Regions from separate parts of the Homo sapiens genome. Here all the other regions are linked to region 5. Evidence: promoter capture Hi-C in 16 types of primary human blood cells and fetal thymus (Javierre and others, 2016). All regions are on one chromosome and are shown on one strand. The core of a region is centred on a gene start or on the middle of the fragment in contact, and the rest is flanking DNA. Distances in the headings are between cores, read along the strand shown. Region 1 overlaps YPEL1 (yippee like 1). Region 2 overlaps MAPK1 (mitogen-activated protein kinase 1). Region 3 overlaps YPEL1 (yippee like 1). Region 4 overlaps MAPK1 (mitogen-activated protein kinase 1). Region 5 holds the start of PPM1F (protein phosphatase, Mg2+/Mn2+ dependent 1F).

Region 1 (2,700 bases), core at 158-2,657, 220 kb after region 5:
TGCTCAGTAGGCCCTCTGGCACCTGCAGGGCCTTGGGCCGGGGCCGGGATTCCTGGTGGGGCTTGTGAGGTGCTTGCTGAGCCCCTGCCGTCCTGTAACAGTGACACATGCTCCTGCCGTAAGGCCCTGGTCAGACACCTAAACTGTGCCCAAGGATCATCCCCCTTAACATCTCATGTGACTCTGACTGCCCTGTAAATTGCACGTTACCCCACTTTACAAAGAAGGTAGCAGAACTTGGCTTCAGGTCCCAGAGCCAACAAACACGTGGCACATTTTGCATCAAAGCCTGGGAAGCCTCTCAAAGCAAGTCAGACCCTCTTTCACCTTTGTCCTGGGGGTGATGACATCCCTGTTGCCAAACCTCACCTACTCCCTCCCTCGTGGTGCCACCTGCCTTCTCAGCAGCATTGGCATATACCCCCGCCACCCAAACGCTTCCCCCTCACCTTTTCTGGTTCCTCTTTGTGTATCTGTTTTTTTTTTTTTTTTTCCCCCCTTCTCTTGCCCCAAGACAGGGCCTTTAATGTCTGATGAGACTTTATTTAGCATGAGGGTAAATAAAGTAGTTTTTAAGATTCTCAACCTCTTTTCTTCTATCTCAATCCAGTCTTCTGGGTGTGGTACCCACTCTTTCAACCTAACAAGGCTAGTGTTGCACATAGTTCCTACACCTCCCCTTTTCTTTCTTTTTTTTTTTTGACACAGGGTCTCACTCTGTCATCCAGGCTGGAGTGCAGTGGCGATCACCTCAGCCTCCCGAGTAGCTGGGACGACAGGCACGTGCCACCACACCTGGTTAATTTTTAAATTTTTTTTTAGAGACGGGTTTTCGCCATGTTGCCCAGGCTGGTCTCGAACTCCTGACCTCAGATGATCCTCCCACCTTGGCCTCTTAAAGTGCTGGGATTACAGGCATGAGTCACCATGCACAGCCCCCTCTTCTTGTTGTTAGCAAGAAAGCACCTCTACTGGGATGTGTCCCAGGGCCTTGGTTGTGGGAAACTTTGTTACTAATGGTAGAAAAAAAAATGTAGTACAGGTTCTTTGAAAAGAAGCGCTCAGTACAAGCACATTATCAGTAGTCTCAGGAGAGGTGGTAGAGGTAGTACTTGAGCACAGGTGGGAGGAGAGATGGAGGAGAGAGCCTGGAGGGCCGAGGCACCTGGGGCCACTGGGCAATGGAGGAGCCAGGCCCCTTGGGTTCCCCAGAGAGCAGGGGCTGGTGGGGAGTCTACAGAGGGCCATGGAGCTTTGTCTCAGGGCAGCCATATAGGTGGTTTGATGCTGTCAGTGAGTCCCATTGTGCACCTAGGCTGCAGTTCCTGAAATGTGGAGGGGAGCTTTTCCTCCTGTAATGCAAGTAGGGAGGAAGTGGATGTGTGTGGATGGAAGCTGGAATTGCCAAAGGCAAATTGTACCCATGCTGTTGCCCTTTGTTGTAAATTTTTCCAGACCTTTCCACACCTGTGACTTCATGTACTATGTGAGAGTTTGAATAGTCAGTGTGGGCCAGATGCTGTAGCTCACGCCTGTAATCCCAACACTTTGGGAGGCCAAGGCGGGTGGATCACTTGAGGTCAGGAGTTCAAGGCAAGCCTGGCCAACATGGTGAAACCCCATCTCTACTAAAAATACAAACTTAGCCAGGCATGGTGGGAGGTGCCTGTAGTCCCAGCTATTTGGGAGACTGAGGCACAAGAATTGCTTGAATCCAGGAGGCGGAGGCTGCAGTGAGCCAAGATCGTGCTACTGCACTCCAGCCTGGGAGACAGAGCGAGACTCTGGAAGCCCCATGATGGAAATGTCCCTGATGTGTGTTTATCAGTGCATTTGGCCAGTCTCTTTTGGTTAAACTTTGTTGTTGTTGTTGCTTTTGTTGAGAAGGAGTCTCGCTCTGTTGCCCAGGCTGGAGTACAGTGGCACAATCTTGGCTCACCACAACCTCTGCCTCCCGGGTTCAAGCAGTTCTCCCGCCTCAGCCTCCCTAGTAGCTGAGACTAAAGGTGCCCACCACCACACCGAGCTAATTTTTGTATTTTTAGTAGAGACGAGGTTTCACCATGTTGGTTGGCCAGGCTGGTCTCGATCTCCAGACCTCAGGTGATCTGCCCATCTCGGCCTCCTAAAGTGCTGGGATTACAGATGTGAGCCACCGTGCTAGCCTCTATTGGTTAAACTTGAGGTGGTTTCTAATCTTTTATTACAGGCAGTATTATTATAGGATGATATTTTGTTATTTCAGGTAATAACTGCTTTTATCCAGTTATTTTGCACATGTGCATCAGCCAAAGGTGAACTCCCCAGATGAACCCCCATCCAGGGCTGTGCTCCTAGGAATGTTGTGGGTGTTGCCAAATGGCTGGATCACAGAGCACCTTCACCAGTGGTGTTGTCAACTTCTTAAATTTTTAAATTTAATTTATTATTTGTAGAGACTGTCTCGCTCTGTCGCCCAGCCTGGAGTGCAGTGGTGTGATCATGGCTCACAGCAACCTTGACCTCCTGGCCTCAAGTGATCCTCCCATCTCAGCCTCCCAAGTAGCTGGGACTACAGGTGCACACCCAGCTCATTTTTTTTTTTTTTTTTAGAGATGGGGGTCTTGCTGTGTTGGCCAGGCTGATCTTGAACTCCTGGCCTCAAGTAATCTTCCCACCTTGGCCTCCCAAAACACTGGGATTACAGGCATGGGCCACCCC
Region 2 (2,700 bases), core at 201-2,700, 190 kb after region 5:
TTCTATCTTCACATTCATGTTAAGATTCAGTGTTGCTTTCCTCTGGATCAGCGTGTCTGAATGGACAGTCAGGTTCAGGTTGTGCTGAACACAGAAATGCTCACAGGCCTCACTTTGCCGCCCAGGCACTGGCCCAGCACTTGGATTTACATAAGATGAGTTAGAAAGGTACTTCTGTAGGGTCCTTTTTACCTCTGCTCGGCAGAGAATCGATGCTGTCATGTTCCTTTATTCACAATCTTAGGTCTCAAATATTCTGTCAAACCCTAACAAAGAAGCCCCGACATCTCAGGTTGGATTCCCTGGTTCTCTCTAAAGAGGGCCTGCCCTTGTGCCCCAGAGGTGCTGCTGGGCACAGCCAAGAGTTGGGAAGGGCCGCCCCACAGTACGCAGTCCTCACCACCCAGCCCAGGGTGCTCACGCTCACCACTCCTGTGGCTGAGGAAGGATAGCTGGCTCATCCTCGGAAAACAGACCCACATCTCTATTCTTGCCCTGAAATACGCGCTTTTCACTTGCGTGCTCAGAGCTGCCGTCTGAAGGTCCACACAGCATTGACGGGACACAGAAATGTGACTGTTACCGGATAACACTGATTAGTCAGTTTTCATTTATAAAAAAGCATTGACAGTTTTATTACTCTTGTTTCTTTTTAAATGGAAAGTTACTATTATAAGGTTAATTTGGAGTCCTCTTCTAAATAGAAAACCATATCCTTGGCTACTAACATCTGGAGACTGTGAGCTCCTTCCCATTCCCCTTCCTGGTACTGTGGAGTCAGATTGGCATGAAACCACTAACTTCATTCTAGAATCATTGTAGCCATAAGTTGTGTGCTTTTTATTAATCATGCCAAACATAATGTAACTGGGCAGAGAATGGTCCTAACCAAGGTACCTATGAAAAGCGCTAGCTATCATGTGTAGTAGATGCATCATTTTGGCTCTTCTTACATTTGTAAAAATGTACAGATTAGGTCATCTTAATTCATATTAGTGACACGGAACAGCACCTCCACTATTTGTATGTTCAAATAAGCTTTCAGACTAATAGCTTTTTTGGTGTCTAAAATGTAAGCAAAAAATTCCTGCTGAAACATTCCAGTCCTTTCATTTAGTATAAAAGAAATACTGAACAAGCCAGTGGGATGGAATTGAAAGAACTAATCATGAGGACTCTGTCCTGACACAGGTCCTCAAAGCTAGCAGAGATACGCAGACATTGTGGCATCTGGGTAGAAGAATACTGTATTGTGTGTGCAGTGCACAGTGTGTGGTGTGTGCACACTCATTCCTTCTGCTCTTGGGCACAGGCAGTGGGTGTAGAGGTAACCAGTAGCTTTGAGAAGCTACATGTAGCTCACCAGTGGTTTTCTCTAAGGAATCACAAAAGTAAACTACCCAACCACATGCCACGTAATATTTCAGCCATTCAGAGGAAACTGTTTTCTCTTTATTTGCTTATATGTTAATATGGTTTTTAAATTGGTAACTTTTATATAGTATGGTAACAGTATGTTAATACACACATACATACGCACACATGCTTTGGGTCCTTCCATAATACTTTTATATTTGTAAATCAATGTTTTGGAGCAATCCCAAGTTTAAGGGAAATATTTTTGTAAATGTAATGGTTTTGAAAATCTGAGCAATCCTTTTGCTTATACATTTTTAAAGCATTTGTGCTTTAAAATTGTTATGCTGGTGTTTGAAACATGATACTCCTGTGGTGCAGATGAGAAGCTATAACAGTGAATATGTGGTTTCTCTTACGTCATCCACCTTGACATGATGGGTCAGAAACAAATGGAAATCCAGAGCAAGTCCTCCAGGGTTGCACCAGGTTTACCTAAAGCTTGTTGCCTTTTCTTGTGCTGTTTATGCGTGTAGAGCACTCAAGAAAGTTCTGAAACTGCTTTGTATCTGCTTTGTACTGTTGGTGCCTTCTTGGTATTGTACCCCAAAATTCTGCATAGATTATTTAGTATAATGGTAAGTTAAAAAATGTTAAAGGAAGATTTTATTAAGAATCTGAATGTTTATTCATTATATTGTTACAATTTAACATTAACATTTATTTGTGGTATTTGTGATTTGGTTAATCTGTATAAAAATTGTAAGTAGAAAGGTTTATATTTCATCTTAATTCTTTTGATGTTGTAAACGTACTTTTTAAAAGATGGATTATTTGAATGTTTATGGCACCTGACTTGTAAAAAAAAAAAACTACAAAAAAATCCTTAGAATCATTAAATTGTGTCCCTGTATTACCAAAATAACACAGCACCGTGCATGTATAGTTTAATTGCAGTTTCATCTGTGAAAACGTGAAATTGTCTAGTCCTTCGTTATGTTCCCCAGATGTCTTCCAGATTTGCTCTGCATGTGGTAACTTGTGTTAGGGCTGTGAGCTGTTCCTCGAGTTGAATGGGGATGTCAGTGCTCCTAGGGTTCTCCAGGTGGTTCTTCAGACCTTCACCTGTGGGGGGGGGGGTAGGCGGTGCCCACGCCCATCTCCTCATCCTCCTGAACTTCTGCAACCCCACTGCTGGGCAGACATCCTGGGCAACCCCTTTTTTCAGAGCAAGAAGTCATAAAGATAGGATTTCTTGGACATTTGGTTCTTATCAATATTGGGCATTATGTAATGACTTATTTACAAAACAAAGATACTGGAAAATGTTTTGGATGTGGTGTT
Region 3 (2,700 bases), core at 11-2,510, 240 kb after region 5:
CTCACATTTAGGTCTTTTATTTTGAGTTAATTTGTATACGGTGTTAGGTAAGAGTCCAACTTTATATTTTTGCAGGTGGATATCCAGTTGTTGTGACACCATTTGTTGAAAGACTGTCCTTTCCCCATTGAATGGTCTTGACACCCTGTTGAAGATCATGTGACCATACATAAGGGTTTATTTCAGGACTGGAATTTCTTAAAGATTAAATAATACTGGATCCATCACTCACATTCCTCAATGTCCTGGTGCTCTGCGTGGTGAATTCCCGGATTCGGGGTGGGGTGCATCCAGCCCTGCCACCGGGCCCACTCACCGGGCGTCTTGGTTCTGCCTCTCCTTTCATGTTTCCAAAGCCAAACCTGGTATAAGAAGAATTTGAATCAATGTTTTTCTCAAATTATTTGCATGTAAAAGGAGTTCATTTTTTCACTTCCAACTAAATGTAAAGTGGTTAAGCAGTGGCATGGTGTCAGTGTTCATTTTGTCTACAATTGATACTAAAGAGTTGGATCTTGGTCAGGCGCAGTGGTGCTTGTAATCCCAGCACTTTGGGAGGCCAGGCTTGGTGGCGTGTTCCTGTAATCCCAGCTACTCAGAGGCTGAGGTAGAAGAATCGCTTGAACCCAGGAGGAGGAGGTTGCAGCGAGCTGAGATTGCGCCACTGCACTCCAGCCTGGGCAACAGAGTGAGACTCCATCTCAAAAAAAAAAAAAAATTCTAGTCCTGCCACCCCCCCACCCCGCGTGTTGCTTCACAACACATGAATCCCATATGTACCTGCTTCACACGCATGTTCTCTCTGTAACCCACCACTTTGTCTGATTGGTTGGCAGGTTACGTTTTTCTCTCGTCCCAGCTGTGTGGACAGTGCCACACGCCCTCCTGGACAACGACGGCTCTTGCGTGCATTTTCCAGTGTTGCTTTTGTCAGAGAGGCCAGCAGAGCCACGGTTCTTCCAGAACCAGCCCTGAGCTGAGTGAGGAGTGCCCAGGAGAGATGGTGAAAATGACAAAGTCCAAAACTTTCCAAGCGTATCTGCCGAACTGTCACCGAACGTACAGCTGTATCCACTGCAGAGCACACCTGGCCAATCATGACGAGCTCATCTCCAAGGCAAGTGGCTTATGCCAAAAAATTGATGGCACAATGATTATCTGTCATTGTGGTACCTACATAGTGGAAGAATATTTAAGCATCACATGACTTCCTGAGTCTGCTGTGTCCTGAACGTCTAGAGCCTTCTAGGCAGCATTGGTGAGCGTTTTGTGCATGGTTAAGTGTGGCTGTGCCACGATCTCAGATGTGATCCTGGCATGGTGGGCGGTTTTCCAGGGCCAGGCAGCTGGCACTCCCAGGGATTACGAGGGGCAAGGTGAATCACTTGTTACTCACAGCAGAAAGCCAGAGAGGACTGAATGAGCAAAAGAAGTCTAGAAAAATCTGTGGAAATGGTTTAATAATAAGGGTATTAAGACATTTTAAAAACTCAGCATGGTTAAGAAGGAAAGGGGTTGCTCAGAAAAATGCCCCAGAGGGTGTGGCTGCGTTTGTCGGTTGTGTAGGAGCCCTGGGTGAAGCTCTGGCTGGTCTCTGTGCATAGAACCCATGAGCAGCCTTGAAGATGTAAACAAGATCCCCTGGCCCCTCCTTACTGTGCTGAGCTCCTCATTAGCAGTGTGTGGCGTTGATCATCAACCAGTTGTGAACATTTAAACAGGCCAAACATCATGGAGGAGCTGATGCTCAGTCGGAATGACAGTGTTCTCCACCCATCCTCAGGTCATGACATCCCCCCAGCCTCAGGTCATGAACTCCCCGCATCCTCATACGTCATGACCACCGATCCTCAGGTCATGACCTCCCACATCCTCACAGGTCATGACCTCCCCCATGCTCAATTCATGACTTGCACCCATCCTCACGGATCATTACCTCCACTCATCCTTATAGGTCATGACCTCCCCCCATCCTCACAGGCCATGACCTCCCCCCATCCTCAGGTCATGACGTCTCCCCATCTTCACAGGTCACGACCACTTTGGGAACAAAGTTTGTCAGGAAGTTGTGCCTTTCAGAAATCTTTTCTTCTTTTTTTAAATAGGTATTTTATTTACTTTTATTTTTTCTTGTAGAGACAGGGTTTTACCATGTTGCCAAGGCTGGTCTTGTACTCCTGGCCTCAAGCGATCCTCCTGCCTTGGCCTCCCAAAGTGCTGGGATTATAGGTGTGAGTCACCACGCCCAGCCAGGAATCTCTTAGGTTTCCTGTTTAACTCAAGAGAAGAACATTTACCTGCTTGTATTTTCAGTAGGTAATAGTGAGAGGCTCCTCATTTCTGTTCATCATCTGAGATAGAAACTGTTGAACGAGGCAGAGTTTCTGCTCTCTCATTGCCTCTGGGGCTCCTGTGTGCACTGGGAAGTGTGAGGTGAGAAGTGGAAGGAGCCAGGCACCCCATTTCCTCGGTGTTTTCTGAGGTAGGCTTAGTGTGTAAAATGACATGAGGTAATGAGAGGCGGAGCTGCTCTGGGCCCCTGGGTAGGGGCAGTGAAGCTTGTGGCCTTGTGGAGCCCCGTGACACCTGTGTGTTGGCCATGACCTAAGCAGGTGACCTGAGCACTGAGAGGTGGTCAATGTCCGGCCCCATGCATGGTTTTGTTTCGGAAGCATGCCAGGTGTGTTCCTTGCTACATGG
Region 4 (2,700 bases), core at 174-2,673, 130 kb after region 5:
GAGTAGCTGGGACTACAGATGGCACGGCACCACGCCCAACTAATTTTTGTATTTTCAGTAGAGATGGAGTTTCACCATATTGATCAGGCAGGTCTCAAACTCCTGACCTCAGGTGATCCACCCGCCGCAGCCTCCCAAAGTGCTGGGATTACAGGCATGAGCCACTGCACCCAGCCTCTATGTCTATCTCCTCTCATAGTTTATGAGGGCAGAGAGCTTTATATTTTTACTGCTTTATCCACAGTGCTTAACATAATGTAGGTGATTATTTGATAAATAAAATTAACTTTAACATTCAAATGTTTTTAAAGTTATTTGATGCACATCCTTTACGATCCCAAACTGACGTTTTTTTTCTCTTGAATACAAACTTCTGTACTAGTTTCCTGTCTCTGCCATTTCCACTGAATCTATAAATTGCCCTTATAACAAGAGTTCTCATCTTTTTTTTTTTTTTTTAATGACGTGAATCCTTTAGGCAGTTGGTGAAACTTGTGGCTCCTTTTCAGATTAATATTTTAAATGAATAAAATAAAATGTGAGATTACAAAGGGAATCAGTTATGCTGAAATACCACTTTTGAAAAATTAAGAAGTCTTTATATGTGCTTCTTTACTAATGCCGTAAATAGCAAGATCAGGCAGCAGGTCTAACAAGCACTGTAATTTCAAAGTGTTGATGGGTATAGATATTTCAAGAATTATAACTGGTCTCCCTATGTCTAGTTTTAGCCTCTTTAGTCAGTTTTTTTTTTCTTTTTTTTTCCTTTTTGAAATGGAGTTTTGCTCTGTCGCCCAGGCTGGAGTGCAGTGGCACGATCTCGGTTCACTGCACCCTCCACCTCCTGGGTTCAAGCAGTTCTTCTGCCTCAGCCTCCCAGGTAGCTAGAATTACAGGAGCCTGCCACTACGTGCCTGGCTAATTTTTGTATTTTTGGTAGAGACAGGGTTTCACCATGTTGGTCATGCTGGTCTTAAACTCCTGACTCCAGGTGATCCACCTGCCTTAGCCTCCCAAAGTGCTTGGGATTACAGGCGTGAGCCACCACGCCTGGCCTTCAGTCAGTTCTATACCTGTGTTTCTGATTCCCTTCCCCTCCCCTCCCCTCCCCTGCCTTCCCTGAGACAGAGTCTCACTCTGTCACCCAGGCTGGAGTGCAATGGCATGATCTTGGCTCACTGCAGCCACCGCCTTCTGGGTTCAAGTGATGCTCCTGCCTCAGCCTCCCAAGTAGCTGGGATTACAGGCACGCACAACCATGCCTAATTTTTGTGTTTTTAGTAGATACAGGGTTTCACCATGTTGGCCAGGCTGGTCTTGAACTCCTGACCTCAGGTGGTCCACCTGCCTCAGCCTCCCAAAGTGCTGGGATTACAGGCATGAGCCACCACATCCAGACTCTTCATCTTCTGTTATTGAAGTAAAGTACAGATTTCTCAGCTTTTTAGTAACATCACCTTTTGTTCTTCCCCTGGACAGGTGTAAACTCCAGCCATATTGAACTATCCAGCACCTGGTACCCAGCCTTCCGTGCTTCAGCTTCTGTAGCTCCTTCTTCCTTAAGTGCTTTTTCGTGTGCTGCCTATTAAAATCCTACCTGCTTTTCAAGGCACCATTAAATACCACCTTCTTAGAGAGAGGTCCACAGATACTAACATAGAGCAGAGCCTGACAGATAATAAACACTCAATAAATTGTAGGTATTATTAAGTGAGAATTGTTCATAACTTCTTTTCAATACCATCATTACCTGGTTCCCAATAAATGAACTGTAAATATTTTGAGTAATATACATCTATAAACTAAGACAAAGCAGTATTATCAGTAAGTGTAAGCAAGTTTAAAGTGAATGCGTAAATGATTAATGTGTAGAATTTATTTTTAATCTCAGTTTAAATGTTTGTCAGTTTTAATCAGAGCATAGTGAGAAAATGATTTCATGGGCAGACATGGACATTTCTTATTCTTCATACTTAATCACAAACCCCACCAATCTATAATAAGATTGATTTCGAGTACTGTCAGTCTTTTTTTGTGAAACAGAATCCTCAAGCTCCTAAGAATTCTGTTTTTTGGCCGGGCGCGGTGGCTCACGCCTGTAATCCTAGCACTTTGGGAGGCCGAGACGGGCGGATCACGAGGTCAGGAGATCGAGACCATCTTGGCTAACACGGTGAAACCCCGTTTCTACTAAAAATACAAAAAATTAGCCGGGCGTGTTGGCGGGCGCCTGTAGTCCCAGCTACTTGGGAGGCTGAGGCAGGAGAATGGCATGAACCTGGGAGGCGGAGCTTGCAGTGAGCCGAGATCGCGCCACTGCACTCCAACCTTGGGAGACACAGCGAGACTCCGTCTCAAAAAAAAAAAAAAAAAAGAATTCTGTTTTTTAATACCTTTAATGTACTTAAATTGCTAATGAGTGTATATGTCTGCCTCATATAAAATACACCAAAAACGGAAGTCTTCACATAGGAAGAAACAAGACTTTAAAGTACTGTGTATTGCATTAACCATATTAACATTTGTTGCTTTTCACACGGTAGTAAATATGGTGTTGAAAGGAGGAGACGGGCGGGCGCAGTGGCTCATGCCTGTAATCCCAGCACTTTGGGAGGCTGAGGCGGGCGAATCACAAGGTCAGGAGTTCAAGACCAGCCTGACGAACATGGTGAAACCCCGTCTCTACTAAAAATACAAAAA
Region 5 (2,700 bases), core at 1-2,500:
TTGAGGCTGCAGTGAGCTGTGATCATGCCACTGCACTCCAGTGTGGGCACCAGAGAAGGAGCTTGTCTCTAAAAAGAGAGAAAAAGAATATTTTCAAGAGCCTCTGTGTTGGCAGAAAAATGGCCCTTCAGAGATGTTCATGTCCTATACCTGTGCCTGTGTTAGATTACATGGCAGACCCGGCATAGTGGCTCACGCCTGTACTGTAATCCCAGCACTTTGGGAGGCCGAGGCAGGCAGATCATTTGAGGTCAGGAGTTTGAGACCAGCCTGACCAACATGGTGAAACCCCATCTCTACTAAAAATACAAAAAAAATTAGCCGGGCATGGTGGTGCGTGCCTGCAGTCCCAGCTACTCGGGAGGCTGAGGCAGGAAAATCGCTTGAACCAGGGAGGCAGAGGTTGCAGTGAGTCGAGGTCATGCCACTGCAGTACAGCCTGGGTGACAGGGTGAGACTCCGTGTCAAAAAAAAATAATAATAATAATAAGGGGCAAAGGGGAATTAAGGTTGCTAATCAACTGATTTAGAGAGATGATGCTGGACTATCTGGGTGGGCCCAATGGCATCAGGAGGGTCTTTAGAAGTAGCAGAAGGAAGCAGAGGAGGGAACCAGAGGTGGCAGTGTGAGAAAGGCTCAACTGGCCATTGCTGGCTTCGAGGCTGTAGGAAGGGGCCACGAGCCAAGGTATGCAGGGAGCCCTTAGGAGCTGGAAAAGGCAGGGGAACAGTTTCTCCCCTAGAATCCTCAGAAAGGAACGCATTCTGGCGATCCCTGGATCTTCGCCCACTGAGGCTAAGTGGACTTCTGACCTCCAGAACGGAAAGATAACAAAAGCCTCAACGTTTGTGGAAACAAACAACTCATAATGAGCCTGGGACTGTGCCTCCTTCCCGGACGGATGAGCCTGCCTGGGCAGTCTGGGTTTGCATCCCTGCTCTGTCACTTACCAGCTATTGACGGCAGAAGTTGCTTAATTTCTGGGCGCTGTGACCTAGGGATTGCTTTCCCCATCCAGCCGCCCACCCAAAGCTGCAGAAGAGAAGCAAGAGGCTGGTGACTGGGGCGGCTCCGGAGCCCAGGTGGAGCCGCAGTTCGCCTACCACTAAAGGGCCGCAGTCACCGTCCACGTAGCCGCCAGGGGGCAGCAGAGGTCCGGCCCCGCCAGCCTGGAGGCCCGACTGCGCCTGCGCGGCGCCCGCGGCGCCCGCGGCGGCCAGGGACGGGAAGTGGGCGGGGCCGGCCGGCAGCAGCTTGCGGGACACGGAGCCGCGAGGAGACAGCTGAGGCCCGCGGAGACCAGGGGTGAGGAGGCCGGGGGGGACGGGATTAGAGGGCTGACGGGGCTGGGACGAGGGTCAGGCGAGCGCCCAAGGCGCACAGGGGTGAAATGGGACCGAGGAACCGGAGGGGTGGAATCAGAGGGCTGGGGAGGCAAGGAGGCCGAGACGAGGCTCACATGGGTGCACCGAAAGGGTGCGGGGGTGCAGTGCGGGGGGCCGAGGAGCAAGAGGGGCCGCTGCGGACATGAGGAACCCGAGGCTGGGAGTTGGGGGGCTGGGGAGCCAAGGGGGCAGAACTGGGGGGCAGGCGGGGGTGTGGCCGAGCCGAGGGCCTGGTAGGGACCGAGGGCTATGAGGCAGAATCGGGTGCTGAGGGGGACGCGCCCCATTTTCCGAGATTTGGCCTCTCCCCACCCCCCAGGAGCCTCTGGGCCGGCACGTTGCCCCATATCCCCCCAGTCCCTGCACCTTCAGGGGCCCAGTCTGCCTGATGGCCCCCGGCTCCGCGGCCTCCCAAGCGTCCGTGAAGCGAGCGTCAGCTGCACAAGTGCTCGGGCTGCAGCTGCTTCAGCCACAGGTCTGTGAGCCAGAGCCTCAGGCGCGGAGGCCGGGCACATTGCCGCTGGGTTCGGTCAGGCAAGCCCCTGAACCTGTCTGTACAACAGGAAGAACTGGCTCCGGCTGCAGGGATTTCGGCACAGCGCTTGACACACAGTGAGGCCCACTGCATGGTGGCGGGCTCCTTCGAAGCCTTCCACCCTGCGGGACAGAGTCACACATGTCGTGGTGGCATTCCCCGGGACAAGTTCTCTGGGCCCAGCTGAGCTCTCACCACGGGGGATAGAAAGTGGGGCCGGCCAGCACTCTGAGGCCATCTCCAGTCTCTTCTGTTGTCAAATTTCGCTCTTTTCCTCCTGCACGCGAGGTGGAAATACCAAAGGCATTGGGCATCCAGAGACCTTGATTGAGTTCGCTTTGCCCTTTCACCTGTGTGAGACCTTAAATGGGTGCTTGCCCTCCTATAACCTATTTCTTCATCTGCAGTGTAGCCTGACAGTATGTACTTCTCAGCGTAGTTGTGAGAGGTAAACAAAACGAATGCATTTCTGAAAGCCATGAACCTCTACACAAGTTCATTTGTGGAATTCCTTTAAGATACCCCCTGAAGGCCGGGCGCGGTGGCTCATACCTGTAATCCCAGCACTTTGGGAGGCCGAGGCAGGCATATCACCTGAGGTCAAGAGTTCCAGACCAGCATGGCAAAATCCCATCTCTACTAAAAATACAAAAATTAGCCGCGCGTGGTGGCAGGTGCCTGTAATCCTAGCTACTCAGGAGGCTGAGGCAGGAGAATTGCTTGAACCTGGGAGGCGAAGGTTGCAGTGAGCTGAGATCCCACCATTGCACTCCAGCCTG

Evidence for each region. Contacts are between HindIII fragments. The CHiCAGO score rates a contact against its expected background, and 5 or more counts as called.
Region 1: a fragment that was not itself captured here is called in contact with the fragment with the promoter of PPM1F in region 5 in 8 of 17 cell types (neutrophils, endothelial precursors, M0 macrophages and 5 more); the score reaches 9.9 in neutrophils.
Region 2: a fragment that was not itself captured here is called in contact with the fragment with the promoter of PPM1F in region 5 in 4 of 17 cell types (neutrophils, M1 macrophages, endothelial precursors and 1 more); the score reaches 6.4 in neutrophils.
Region 3: a fragment that was not itself captured here is called in contact with the fragment with the promoter of PPM1F in region 5 in 17 of 17 cell types (endothelial precursors, M2 macrophages, M1 macrophages and 14 more); the score reaches 16.5 in endothelial precursors.
Region 4: a contact is called between a fragment that was not itself captured here and the fragment with the promoter of PPM1F in region 5, in 1 of 17 cell types (neutrophils). The highest score is 6.5, in neutrophils.

What each region holds. Positions count from the first base shown.
Region 1 is chr22:21,729,333-21,732,032 of GRCh38, reverse strand. The region is part of intron 1 of YPEL1 (yippee like 1); the gene reads left to right. Among named protein-coding and RNA genes, the nearest start is that of YPEL1, 5.1 kb to the left of the region's middle. RefSeq lists a silencer at 1,839-2,026. The HindIII fragment of the contact is 9,152 bases long and covers 1-2,700 here.
Region 2 is chr22:21,759,900-21,762,599 of GRCh38, reverse strand. MAPK1 (mitogen-activated protein kinase 1) reads left to right here. Exons shown (of 9, transcript NM_002745.5): 9 at 1-2,700. Among named protein-coding and RNA genes, the nearest start is that of YPEL1, 25 kb to the right of the region's middle. The HindIII fragment of the contact is 819 bases long and covers 1,041-1,859 here.
Region 3 is chr22:21,709,045-21,711,744 of GRCh38, reverse strand. YPEL1 (yippee like 1) reads left to right here. Exons shown (of 5, transcript NM_013313.5): 2 at 837-1,117. The coding sequence starts at 1,001. Among named protein-coding and RNA genes, the nearest start is that of YPEL1, 25 kb to the left of the region's middle. RefSeq lists an enhancer at 503-1,702. The HindIII fragment of the contact is 2,601 bases long and covers 1-2,560 here.
Region 4 is chr22:21,820,491-21,823,190 of GRCh38, reverse strand. All of the region lies in intron 1 of MAPK1 (mitogen-activated protein kinase 1), which reads left to right. Among named protein-coding and RNA genes, the nearest start is that of MAPK1, 46 kb to the left of the region's middle. The HindIII fragment of the contact is 3,359 bases long and covers 1-2,700 here.
Region 5 is chr22:21,951,398-21,954,097 of GRCh38, reverse strand. PPM1F (protein phosphatase, Mg2+/Mn2+ dependent 1F) reads left to right here and starts at 1,250. Exons shown (of 8, transcript NM_014634.4): 1 at 1,250-1,306. RefSeq lists a silencer at 1,058-1,467 and enhancers at 1,461-1,981, 2,028-2,097. The HindIII fragment of the contact is 22,373 bases long and covers 1-2,700 here.